Regions from separate parts of the Homo sapiens genome. Here region 1 is linked to region 2. Evidence: promoter capture Hi-C in 16 types of primary human blood cells and fetal thymus (Javierre and others, 2016). All regions are on one chromosome and are shown on one strand. Each heading gives the region's core, a stretch centred on a gene start or on the middle of the fragment in contact. The rest is flanking DNA. Distances are from core to core; before and after follow the strand shown. Region 1 overlaps M1AP (meiosis 1 associated protein). Region 2 holds the start of PCGF1 (polycomb group ring finger 1).

Region 1 (6,431 bases), core at 2,109-4,608, 110 kb before region 2:
GGGCACTGTGCAAGTCTTAATCTAGTTCCTTATTCTTCAATATGTCTGGTAATATTAAGTTGAGATTTTGCTTCACAGTGAGATGAACACTATGGATTAGTTAACGGTGAATGATAAATATTTATGTATCTTGTGTCTCTTATACCTTTAAAAAAGTCACATTTAACATGTCATTTGAGTTAGGAAAAAACTTCCTTGCATTTTAGCACCTATCTCTCTGCCAATTTCAACTTTGTATAGATAAAGTTTTGGAAAAACTTACCCACTGAATGGAGGTGAGAGTGCAGTTTCCTAGAGTTCTTCCCCAGGGAGCTCTGATCTTAAGTCTTTTAGAGCATGAAGAGCAGCATAGTGCTTCTGCTCCCTCAGAGCATCCTTTGAGCCTCCCCATCCCATTTCATCTTTTATGGTTGGTCTAGGACCAGTTACAGAAGTGGATTCATGGTAATGTGAGTGCATATTCCAGCTATTTTCATATTTGACAAGATGCATAAATTCCACCCCCAGGGTTGTCAACACAATCAGTCTGTTTCTAGACCACTACAAAAAGGTTTTTACCAAAAAGCCATCTTCATCTTTCCCAGAAACATAGACAGGGACCTCATAACTGAGATAGCTCTTGACTTTTGGTGGGTAGGAGGAAGGAGGGAAGACATTTAGCTGAAGGACCTGGAACCTGTGCCGTCTGATAGTCTTCAATAATAAGCACAGTGGTCTGTGGTGCAATGGACTGATCAACAAAACCTTAATCAATTACTTTACCTTTTTCCTGCCGATGAAGTACAGACGTGAAAATATGCATGAAGGCAGAGATGAGGGCCCATGGTTCTGCTATAGATGAAGACATTGTCACAAGAGTGGCAGAGGAAATGACGCTTTTCCCCAAAGACAAGAAAATCTACTCAGTCAAGAGCTGTAAGACTGAACAATGACAGCTAGATTTCCACTGAGCTCTTAACCAGATGGGATAAGAGGGATTTGGGAGGCTCAGCACACGAGGGACCTTGCCTTTCAGAGGCATTTTGAAGACTTCTTTGGGGTTTGGCACATTTGCACCTGTGAACTTTCGGGATATAGAAGTTTCTAAGAATTGGTTTTTGAAAAGACACTAATCTGTCAAGTGCACTTGTCATTTTGCAACATGACATCAATCCAGCTGTTAATTGCAGTTAAAGATAAACTATAAAATCCCCTTCACACTTATTGTTGCTGACTTTGACAGAAGTGCCTGGAAACAGCTGTGCAAGGGAGGCCTGAGGATCGAGGATTGTTTCTGACCCACAACACCCACACCTCAGAAGCTACTGTTGTGACTGAAGGGGTTCAAGGGCCCTGCTACAGTCTGAAGAGCATTAGGTTTTCACCTGCTAAAAACATTCTTCTGCTGTTTCTTTTTCTTCACACAGAGAGGGTTCACTGACTTGTATTTTCAGTTTAAATTGGTGGCACTTGACAGGTACAGGTGGTGTCTGGTGGGAGGACATGGCCCTGCACGCTGAGCACTCTTGGCCTGGGGTGAACTGTCTGCATGTGGGGTGGGAGCTCCATCTGAGGTCTCTGCAGAGCAGGGCAGACAGGTCCATTGCTGTGGCTGCTGATTACATCTGTGATCATGGAATTCCTTCACCCATCTCTCACTTGATATCACTTACCCACTTGCCTTCCTTGTACCACATCTTCTCCTGACCTTCACTTGCTACTAAATTCCCCCCAACCATATCATCATAGAAGCTAATCAGAATAAGACTGTAGCTTCAAATTTGAGTCCTTGGTTCCTAAGGTTAAACGTTTGCTGTTACCTTTAAAATATGGGTCAATCTCTTGCTTTACTCCAGAGAACCATTTGAAATTCACAGGACATGCACATTCTCCATAGTTGACATGTGCACAGACTAAGCAGTCAGTTTGCAGATTCGGCATTGCCAAAGAAGTGGGAGTATTAAACACTAGAAATGCTAAGAGTTTTCAAGGATTTGTATATTTATTATAATGTTTTTACTTCTGAACCTTCGATAATAGAAATATAGAACATTGCTTATTTTAAAACATGAGAAGGGCACAAAATGGAATAATTGCTTATTTTTTCCCAGACACTCTTAAAACAAATGGTATGAATTTTTTTAACTTTTATTTTAAGTTCAAGGGTGCATGTGCAGGTACATAAGTAAACTTGTGTCATGGGGGTTTGTTGTACAGATTATTTCATCATCCAGGTATTAAGCCTACTACCCATTAGTTATTTTTTCTGATCCTCTCCCTCCTCCCACACTCCACCCTCTGACAGGCCCCAGTGTGTGTTGTCCCTTTTTATGTGTCCATGTGTTCTCATCATTTAGCTCGCACTTATAAGTCAGAACATGCAGTATTTGGTTTTCTGTTCCTGCGTTAGCTTGGAATTTTTATTGTTAAATCCATAGTAATATGTCATCACAATTGTAGACACAAACAAGCTTAGTCCGAAGTTGTGGCTGGTTCTGGGTGTCATCTAATGACACCCTATATGACATCACCAGGCTGGACTGCCCTGATCACTGAGAAGTAAGGCTTAGATTCCAGCTATTTTGAATCATTCTGTGTCTGTCCTATAGTTGTAGTACAACTGCAGACACATAATTAGAACAATGGTGTAGCATTTTTGTATATAAAATGTAATAGAATGAATTTGTGACATCAAAATGCCTTGTAGGGTATCACATTTAGTCTTTTAAAATACCAAGGTGAGGCTTAAAATTTTTAGTACATATTCTCAAATTGGAGTTAAGTTACATTTCTTTTATAGCCTTTTGGGTATCTGGTCAAGAGAAAACAAGATTTTTCTCTGTTTATAATGATGCAATAAACTCAACCCATGTTGGCCACCAAATAAATAAAATAGGAATAAAAATTGATACTGAATGTTGTGTCATTCGATCAGTAATTATTTTATTTATTCACACAAACCTGAGCTAATTGAAAGAAGAGCCCAGCTTGTCCATGCCATTAAGAGGAATATTTCCAATTATTAAGAGAAACATTTCCAATTAAAGCTATGCTTAATGCCAATAATTATTTCTCAAAATTTGTATATACATGTTGTTTTAATAAATTGTATATGAATGATAATTCTAATAATAACTCAATCTAGAGTGCCCCTTAGAGCCTATGCTCATAGGAAACTTAGAACTCTTGCAAAATATAGCTGTTTTAGATGCAGAGAAGTATGATGGGATGATCAATAAAAGGTTGCCAAGCATAAAAATTCTTTTACATTATGATAAAACTCTCAGGGAAAGTGAAATGGAAATATGAGTTCAAGGAGAAAAAGGAACAATCTAAATTTCTATCTCTTGGGAAAAAAAGAGCTTGTTCATGTACTTTTAACACTGAATAATGGTGAGTATCAAATCACCATGGCATTTAGATTCAATTGGACTGTTTTGAAGAGTTATATTATAGTTTTATTTTTAAATGTTGATATTTAAAATATGCAGGAAGTTACATCGTTAGCAACCACTTATAAAGTTGGAATTTTAAAATATAGATGTTCACTTAAAAATGCATAAGGGGGTACATTGTTTCTCAGATTCTTTTAGTGGGTACATGAGAAGAAATGCTTAAAGCCTACTAGGCTACACCTGTGGTGTGATTTCTTCTAATTTCTTTCTCGGATAGTTTTCTTATTTTCCTTTCTAGATTACAAGTTTTCTTTGTGTAAGAATTATATGCAATTCCTTGTGTTTTCACCCCAAAGACTTGGGGAGAGAAGAATATATCAACTGTGGAGCTAAGCCCAGGAAGGTGTTGACTTAAGCAGTCTTTGTATTCTGGCAGGTTTACAGCTCATGCTCATGGATTTTATGTGCATTACAGATATCACTCAGTTCTGCTCTATGGTCAGGAAGGTGTCCCCATCCCAAAATATAATTCTTCCCCACCCCCCACCTGCTATTGATGCATGGAATCCCTTCAAATGATGTCACAAATCTTCAGTCCACATTTATCAAAATGCATATATCCTTAGGAGAAGTAACATTGACCTAGTATCAGATTAAATTAGTTGACTCCTAAGAGCAAGTTTTTATAAAGGTAGATGAGGAGAACCAAAAGGTCGCTTGTCTCGGTTTAACATGTTGGCTCCTTAAGCTGACTGCAGACTAACCCAAATATCTCTTCTTTACTGAAGTTATCCTAAAGAGCGTATTAGATAGGACGTATGAATTCTGAAGTGATCAACCACATCAAAATTCTCACTTCTGGGAAAACCTCATTTTTAAGTAGAGAAGCTTTTGGTGCCTAGACTGACTAAGAAATGAAGATGATGTCTAAGGTGAACACTGTCTGGCCTCCAGTTTGCAGGTCACCCCAAAGTAAAACTAAGCAGTCACACAACTGGATTTCCCTTTGTGTGAGTGAATGAGTTAAAACACTTCCTTTCATGTTTCTGGTAACTCTAAGTAATCAAAACCTTTATGGCTGCAAATTTTCCTTCTGCTAGTGTAGGGAAGATTTTGGTGCAGTGGCTAGAACACAATAGGAATTCAGTAGATGTTGGTCAAATAAATTTTCAGGAAGGGAAGGAACTTCTGAGGAATTATTTATAATAAATTTAGACTGCCAATTAATCTGAAACCTGGTCCCTAAAGACTTGTGTCTTTGATTCGTTTTTCTCTGCAGCAAGTGAAAGGGAACTTTGCTAGGTTGCAGACCTGCATCTCAGAACTCCGCATGTTACAGAGAGAAGGGTGTTTCAGATCACAAGGTGCTTCTCTGCGGCTGGCAGTAGAGGATGGGCTCCAGCAATTCAAACAATACAGCAGACATGTGACCACAAGGGCAGCTCTGACCTATACCTCCCTGGAGGTAAGTGATGCTGGCCTTTAGGACTCCAAGCTGTGTTCCGATTTCAGTCCATATAGGTCATTGTTTATCATCTTTACATTGTTCTATCTTTCATTCACTCTAGATGTAATATTCAAAGCAAGATTTTCAGCTCCCTACAGGCAGAGGACATGTTTCTCTTCTTCCTATAACCTGTACAGTTCTTAATGTAGAGATAGTTATAGAGAAGAGCTCTAAAAATACAGACTGAAGTGAATTATGAGGAAAAACTGAAATAAAAATAAAATCTGAATATGCCATCTGCCTCTGGATTTTTGGAAGTTGTAAAGAAAATGTTAAACTGCCTACATTGGTAGCTGTATTTATATTTACCTTGGTACTCTTAGGAATTTACAGTTGTTTTTAATCAAATCTTGGCATCAAATTGAGGAACTTTTCTCGGGATTAGCAAGTGTGCAAATACAAGAGTGCCAGACTGAGCCAATCTTAAAAATATAAATAAGGGCATGGCTGGATACTCCATTGGGTACATGAGTAAGTGTGAGTTAAGACAGTTTCGGTCTCTTGTAACCTCAGGGATCAAACAGACAGGACAAAAAATAATCGTGTGGGATTGCTGGTTTCCAATTCTTCATGTAAGGAGCTTGGAAGTTGCCACTCCATCCTAACAACTAGTAAAAAGCTTAACAAACTAAAAAATCAACAATATTTTTTAGATCCCTGAGAAGTGAGGTCACAGGGCAAACTGTTGCATCCAAAATGGGAGAGACAACCAGGCAAATACAGAGAATCACAACATACTGGAACAGAAACCTCCACAGGAACCAGTGCTAGAGTAGGAAACTGTCATTGACATTGCTACAGGCTAGGTGTAGACATGTCTAAAATTCTAGGAGAGGATGAGCATTGTGGCTCACACCTGTAATCCCAGCACTTTGAGAGGCCAAGGCAGGAAGATCACCTTGAGGCCAGGAGTTCAAGAGCAGCCTGGACAGCATAGCAAGACTCCATCTCCACAGAAAATAAAGATTAGCCAGGCTTGGTGGTGTGCACCTATAGTCCTAGCTACTTGAGAGGCTGGGGCAGGAAGATGGCTTGAGCCCAAGAGTTCAAAGTTGCACTGAGCTATGATCATACCACTCCACACTTTTGTGAGTTTTACCTCCAGGAGCTCAACCAAGTCCTCTTGTAAACATCGGGGGAAAATTCCCTCATGCCTCTGACAGGGAGAAGGAAAAATGAACCATTTTGAAATATACCAGAGCACTCTGTTATTAACAGGTATAATGAAACTACCCTAACAGGTAGTTACTCAGGAGAAACTAGTTAAACAGAACCTAACCCTTAACCTCCTGGGATTTTATCAGAGTCTAAATGACCTGGAAGAAGGGAAATACCAAACTCCAGCCAGCTGTATCCTTCAATGTAGCAGAAAGGAATACTCAACTTCAGCCCACTCTAGCCATCCTGTCCCACCTAAGTAGGGAGAGAAAAAACTGAGGAACACTTGTAAAGTTCACAGTCCAGAGGCATAAGTTCACTAAAAGACTGAGACCTAATCATACTTCCCCTCCCTCTATCCCTTACCACACATTACTAAAGGCCTGCTTATA
Region 2 (6,665 bases), core at 363-2,862:
TCTGAGACTTTGACTTTCATTCTGATTGAAAAGGGAAGCTCTCAACAGGTTTTAAACGTAAAAAAGGAACAACCTAATTTTTCAACTTTATTTTTAATAGCTTTCTTGAAGTATAATGGACATATAAACTGCAAATATTTGAAGTGTACAATTTGATAAGTTTTGACATATGTATATACCCATGATACCATCATCACCATAAAAATAATAAACATATCCACATCTCAAAAATTGTCCTTTGTCCTTTGTGTTTCATGTTTTATCAGAATCACTAGCTCTGAGAAACAGCACTCAACTGTGATGTTGAGAACAGGCGAAGGGGGACTCAAGGAAAACAGTCAAGAGGCCACTACAGAGGACAGATGATAGTGGCTCGGACCAGGGAAGTAGGTAAACAGGGGCTGTAACGAATAATTGATTAATCACTAATCTCATAACTTCTTGCTGCATATTCACTTCAATTCACTCTGAAGAGAAATGAACAAAAATGTCGCTTTCACAGGATAACCTCCCTTCAAAAAAGTCCGCTAGCTCCCAATTGCCCTCAGGCTAAAAATCGCAACTCTTTATGGCCCTGCTTTTTCTATTACCACTCTCAAATCTACATCTTGACCTTCCTGTCCTCTGGTCATTCCCCTCCACGTCCTTTCTATTTCACCACACTTCCACCCCCTCCCCCAAGTCTAAATTGTGCCCAAAGTCCCACTTTCTCCAGAAAGCCTTTTTTGAGGTCTCCATTGGAATCTCTCCCTTCTCGTATCTCCAGTTGCATTTGATGTTAATACCTCATAGCAAATTTATCCCTTTTTAAGTACCCAGAGCCGGCGGTGTAGAGCTCTCGAGCGAGCACCCCGCGTAGTCCCCAAGTGCGGGACTGGGCCTATGCTACTACAGGCGCTCGCTGCCTAAGCCTGTCTGTGTGTGGCAGTGTCCTAGTCGTCCTCCCCTCCTCCTTCGGCATCTGCTCTGCATTAGTCTGTCCCAGGCCTCCGCAGGCGCCGATGATTAAATCATCATCATTAACCAGGGCCTGCCCCCCCCATCCCCGGCAGCAGGGGGGAGAATGGGGGAATAAGATCACTACCAAGTCCCTGGGGGTCTCTCACTCCCCATCCCCCGGCACCCTCTCCGAGACTCTGCAAAGCCCAAGAAACTCCCTCCGTGAAGCCGGGAGAAGACCCGCCATCTGGACGAAGCTCCGCTACGCGGACGCCGACAGGGCGGCATTACGAGGAGAGGACCCAGGAGGGGCTTCTTCAGCAGGGTCGTCGTCACAGAAGACCGACGACCCTGAGCGGGTAGCGGGCACAGACTGCCAGGCCTTTGGGGGTAGGAGGGGGCAGTCTTTCGCAGGCTCCGAAAGTTAGTCTTGAGGTCGCGTAGGGCCTATTATGATGATTTCTACAGGAGGTTGAAGAGATAAGACCCTTCCCTGTGCTCCCCCCCCCCCACTCCTTAATTACGGATTGAGCAGGGGAGGGGCCGGTGGGGCTCAGGTGAGCACACAGGGAGAAAGGGACGTGGGCGGGGCCTTACAGAGGGTGAGCGAATCCGAAAAGACCTAGAACCTCGTTGCTGGGAGACAAGTCCCGCCCTGCAGGCGGCACCGGAAGTGGCCGGCTGGGATCAGCCTTTAAGATGGCGTCTCCTCAGGGGGGCCAGATTGCGATCGCGATGAGGCTTCGGAACCAGCTCCAGTCAGTGTACAAGATGGACCCGCTACGGAACGAGGTGCAAGGGCGGCAGGGTTACTGCTGTGGTCGGCCAGCGGTGCGAATTGGGGCGGGCTAAAGGACGGGCGGTGGCTGGCCGGGCGCCCAGTGCGCCTGCGCAGAGACAGAGTGCCCAGTGCGCCTGCGTGGTTGCGATCGGGTTGCCAAACTCCGGTTAGGACGCCTGCGCGTTGTGTCGCCGACGTTGTGTAGTCTCCCCTGGGAAAGGAGGGTCAGGCGAGTCCACGTGAGGGAAGCCCCCGCTGTGCGCGGAGCCCTCTGCTGGGCGGAGGGGGAGTGCCAGCCCCCAGGAGCTAATCCCCGGCTGATGGCGCAGGGCGCGGGGCTTGGCCGTCTAGTGTGATGAAGGAGGCGACCCCCAAGGTGGGAAGGCGCACGGGTTGGGGTTTGAGGGTGGATGATTGGTGACGGAGGGTGTATCTTCAGGAGGAGGTTCGAGTGAAGATCAAAGACTTGAATGAACACATTGTTTGCTGCCTATGCGCCGGCTACTTCGTGGATGCCACCACCATCACAGAGTGTCTTCATACTTGTGAGTGCCTTGGAGACTGCCTAGTTCTTCCAGTCCCTAGTCTTCACCAAGCTGACTGCCAGCTTCTGTGCGGCCTGCCTCACGCATCCAGGCACCCCACCCAGCCCATGAATCCAGTTTCCAGAGGGCCTGAGAATCTGCTTTTCTTTTCCTGCAGTCTGCAAGAGTTGTATTGTGAAGTACCTCCAAACTAGCAAGTACTGCCCCATGTGCAACATTAAGATCCACGAGACACAGCCACTGCTCAACCTCAAACTGGACCGGGTCATGCAGGACATCGTGTATAAGCTGGTGCCTGGCTTGCAAGACAGTGAGTCACCAACCTGACTTTGAGGGGCCTCTTGAGGACTAATTGCTGAGTGGCAGCTTGAGGTGACGGGTTTGGTAGGACTCACGTAGGCAGAAGGCCAAAGATGAGGGAAGGACAAAAAGTGAGGAAGGGCTAATACTTTATTCTTTTTTTTCTTTTTTTGAGACGGAGTCTTGCCCAGGCTGGAGTGCAGTGGCGCAATCTCAGCTCACTGCAAGCTCCACCTCCTGGATTCATGCCATTCTCCTGCCTCAGCCTCCTGAGTAGCTGGGACTACAGGCGCCCACCACCATGCCCAGCTAATTTTTTATATTTTTTAGTAGAGACGGGGTTTCACCATGTTAGCCAGGATGGCCTCAATCTCCTGACTTCATGATCTGCCCACCTCTGCCTCCCAAAGTGCTGGGATTACAGGCGTGAGCCACCGCGCCCGGCCCCGAAGGGCTAATACTTTATTCTCATACTTCACCTTCTTCTAGGTGAAGAGAAACGGATTCGGGAATTCTACCAGTCCCGAGGTTTGGACCGGGTCACCCAGCCCACTGGGGAAGGTATGTCCTTGGCCGCGGGACAGTAAAGACCCCAGAGCATTCTTCTTGCCCAGTTTTGCTCTCTGGGGAAAGAGGAGTATGGAATGTGTGCCACCAGCCACCTCACTACCCTATCTTTCTCAGAGCCAGCACTGAGCAACCTCGGCCTCCCCTTCAGCAGCTTTGACCACTCTAAAGCCCACTACTATCGCTATGATGAGCAGTTGAACCTGTGCCTGGAGCGGCTGAGGTGAGGAGAAGGTCAGGGGTTGCAGGAGGTGACAGTGCCAATGACCCAGAGCCAGGGAGGGTCTAGGGGAGAGGCTGAGCAGTGAGTGAGTGCCTATCCCCTTGAAGAGAGTATATCATGGCTCTGGGTGGGGAAGAGGAGGAAAGATAGGATTCCCTAACCTGTGTCTATTTCCCCCCAGTTCTGGCAAAGACAAGAATAAAAGCGTCCTGCAGGTGAGAAGGGCTGAGGGGAGGGCCTCTCTAAGGAGACTCACCTCCCATGGTCCTTCCCTCACACACCTTGCCCTCTTCCCTCCCCTCCCTGCTCCCAGAACAAGTATGTCCGATGTTCTGTTAGAGCTGAGGTACGCCATCTCCGGAGGGTCCTGTGTCACCGCTTGATGCTAAACCCTCAGCATGTGAGTAGTCCCACAGTAGGTTTCTTGAGGGGGAGAAGGGGCTAAGAAAGGAGGGACAGAGTCTAGGGTGGACCAGGGTAGTTTTTGACCTGCCAGAAAGTTCCTAAAATTATGCCCCCATCTCCCTCCTAGGTGCAGCTCCTTTTTGACAATGAAGTTCTCCCTGATCACATGACAATGAAGCAGATATGGCTCTCCCGCTGGTTCGGCAAGGTAAGCCAGGCCACCCTCCCTGGGATCACACCCCCTTCAGACTCCCCCCAACCATCCTACAGTCCTCAGGGGAAGGGTGGGCTGAGGGGCCCTTTGAATAATATAAGAACATTCCCCACTGACTACTACTTCCTCATTCTCTCCTTAGCCATCCCCTTTGCTTTTACAATACAGTGTGAAAGAGAAGAGGAGGTAGGGGCCAAGCCCCCACCCCATCCCACTCCCCTTCCCTCCCCAGATATTTATGTGAAATGAACTGCAGCTTTATTTTTTGAAATAAAAACTTTTAAAAAGCACCTCTCTTCTGCCTTATTCTTCCTGCCTCACACTCATGCTGTGTCCTGCCTTCTTCAAAAATCCTCTGAGTTTCATTGTGAAGAAGGGCCTGTCCTCTATGGCCATGGGCCCTCAATGTCTTGCCAAAGGAGAAGGGTAGAGGATCCCTATATGTGTGAAACCAGGCCTCCCACACCACTCTTTTTGGTGATGGGAAGGTTTCCTGGAGGGGAGCTCTCAGCTGTCTTTGTATGCTGCAGCATACAGTGCGGGTGCGGGCCTCTTAGGAGGTTTCCTAATTCAGCGGTGGTGAGAAGGCTAGAGTTGGACAGTGGCTGCTGCAGGATTGAACAAGTGTGATTTTTTAAAGAAAAATCCAAAGAATTGCATTATAGTTTTATAACTTGGGGGATGGGGACAAAAAGGAGGGAGAAGTCTAAAAAACAAATGGAGTGGGGCCACAGGAATTGTCAGAAATGGAGGCTTAGGCTGTCCATACAGGATTCAGCAAGTACTTGGGGACTGCGACTAGAAGAAGCCAGGGTGGGGAATAAGTAGCTGAGGAGGAGAGGGAGCTGATGTGGAGGAGAGCAAGGGCAACTTCAAGGAACAAAAGGGAAGCTGCAAGGCACCAGCTCCATTAATTCAGCAAACATTCCTTGTCTGTATGCCATGCCAGGGTCCTTGTTCTATGGTTCTCTCAGTGGGGTAGCTAGAAACTTGCCCAACAGACAGGAACAGACAGAAGCCAAAGCAAAGAATTCCTGAAGGTAGCCGGCCTGCTGCCAAACCTGGGACAAACTGTATGGAGGCGCAGCGTGTGTAGCCAGAACCCGAGTTAAAACCTAGGTCCCACCCTGGCCGGTCTGACTCCACGGCTTCTAGGGGTTGGTTGTGCGAAGCTGTTGAGGGCTGAAGGCGCTAACCATCAAAGATGGAGGTCGGGTGGCAGAAGATGGGGTGGGAGGCAGAGAGTGAGTACAGCGAAGGCGGCCTCAACTGGATAAGAAAACTCCAGACTTGCGGGAAAGGCCTGAGCTCGCATTGGACGCTCTGGGGTGCCACAGTCGGACACTGTTTCCGGGAGACCTCCGCCTCTCCGCGCGGATGAAGAGGCTGCAGACGCCGAAGAAGAGCTCGAGTGCGTGGGGCACTGATGGGGATCGGGGTGGGCACACAGCAGACGGCCTGGGTACGCTTCTTTCCTGACATGGTCTCCAAGGTTAGCAAAGCTTCCAAACGTTTCCAGGCCTCCAGCCTGGAATGCCTCTCCCCCCGCTCCCCGACCTCTTCCAGGAACACCCCAGCTCAGGGCTCCCCACTCCCCTTCCTGCGAATTGAAGCTCTGTGGGCTTTGCGGTCCGGGCGGGCGAGTACCTGGCGGCCGGGGCTGTTCTCCAGGAGTTTCTGCGCGAAAAGTTTCCTAGGAGTGACGGGATGGCGTGGGCTCAGGGGAGAGTAGAAACGCTCCCGGGGGCTTTGCAGGGACCGAGCAGCTGCGGGAGCTGGGGAGCAGTCTGACTGGGACTCCCTGGAAGGCCCTGCCATTGGGGCTGGGCGGCAGCTCGGCGTCGAAAAAGCCGGGTCTGAAGATTAATGTGCCGAGGCCGGAGACCCTGAGGACCAAGTCACGGGACTTGCCCTTGGTGACTCACGCCTTGAGGCCGAGCAGCGCGGAAGGCGCTCAGGCCGGATCTGGGGTGGGGCCCAGCCGAGCCTTGGTCTTGTCTGTCAGCAGCGGCAGCTGCACTGCGTCTCCCAAGGTGGCTGAAGCTGGCCAGCTGCGGGCTCCGCGCCGCTCGTCCCGGGTCTATGGGTCCATTCCCCACGCCCACCCGGACCCCGGGGTCACTCGGGTCTCCGTCTGTGCCAGGGAGGGAGAATCACGCCCAGGGTCCTCTCTGGCTTCGCGCGACTGAGAACGCGCCCGGACGCGGCGCGGCGCTCCTGAGTCAAAGGAGAGGTGGCGGCAGGACCACCCCAGGGCGCCGTCTGCACCCCCGGACGCACTCGGCCGTGCTGCGCTTCCGGGACAAGGCGTCGGTTCTCGCCTGAGGGCCAAACCTTGCCCCTGCCCACCTTCCTCACCCCCGCCATTTCCAGGACTCACATCCAAAGGCGACAGCACCAGGATTTGCTCCCGCCTTTGGCACAGAGGAGGACGGGTCCCTCTCTCAGCCTGGCCAGTCTTTCCCAGGGCTTGATGGGAAAAAGGACTTCCCTAGAAGTGAGTCTTGGGGAGTTGGGGGGAGAAAAGTGTCGAGGAGGGCGTCGGAGTTTCCCACCGCTGGCTGCTTCCCGGCCCGCACGCCCGGGAGGGTGGCGGTGGGCGCGCAGAGATCTTTGCAAAACAGCGTCCAGGGCGGAAAACAACTCACAGGCCTGCCGCCCCCAAAGTCACGAAACTAAGATATAAGGACC

The links. The method cuts DNA at HindIII sites, captures the fragments that hold promoters and counts their contacts. A CHiCAGO score of 5 or more calls a contact.
Region 1: a fragment that was not itself captured here is called in contact with the fragment with the promoter of PCGF1 in region 2 in 2 of 17 cell types (naive B cells and total B cells); the score reaches 5.7 in naive B cells.

Annotation. Positions count from the first base shown.
Region 1 is chr2:74,613,372-74,619,802 of GRCh38, reverse strand. M1AP (meiosis 1 associated protein) reads left to right here. Exons shown (of 11, transcript NM_001321739.2): 3 at 4,654-4,839. It also overlaps the pseudogene TOR1BP1. Among named protein-coding and RNA genes, the nearest start is that of M1AP, 32 kb to the left of the region's middle. The HindIII fragment of the contact is 1,812 bases long and covers 2,453-4,264 here.
Region 2 is chr2:74,502,642-74,509,306 of GRCh38, reverse strand. It overlaps PCGF1 (polycomb group ring finger 1), which reads left to right and starts at 1,612. Exons shown (of 9, transcript NM_032673.3): 1 at 1,612-1,731; 2 at 2,160-2,265; 3 at 2,423-2,575; 4 at 3,055-3,126; 5 at 3,250-3,355; 6 at 3,537-3,570; 7 at 3,669-3,755; 8 at 3,888-3,968; 9 at 4,117-4,264. The coding sequence starts at 1,639. The coding sequence ends at 4,164. LBX2-AS1 (LBX2 antisense RNA 1) reads right to left here. Exons shown (of 2, transcript NR_152616.1): 1 at 6,355-6,665; 2 at 4,242-5,667. It also overlaps a transcript of LBX2 not described here. RefSeq lists enhancers at 803-862, 1,603-1,782, 1,419-2,349, 5,815-5,884, 5,791-6,085 and 2 more. The HindIII fragment of the contact is 5,812 bases long and covers 1-5,478 here.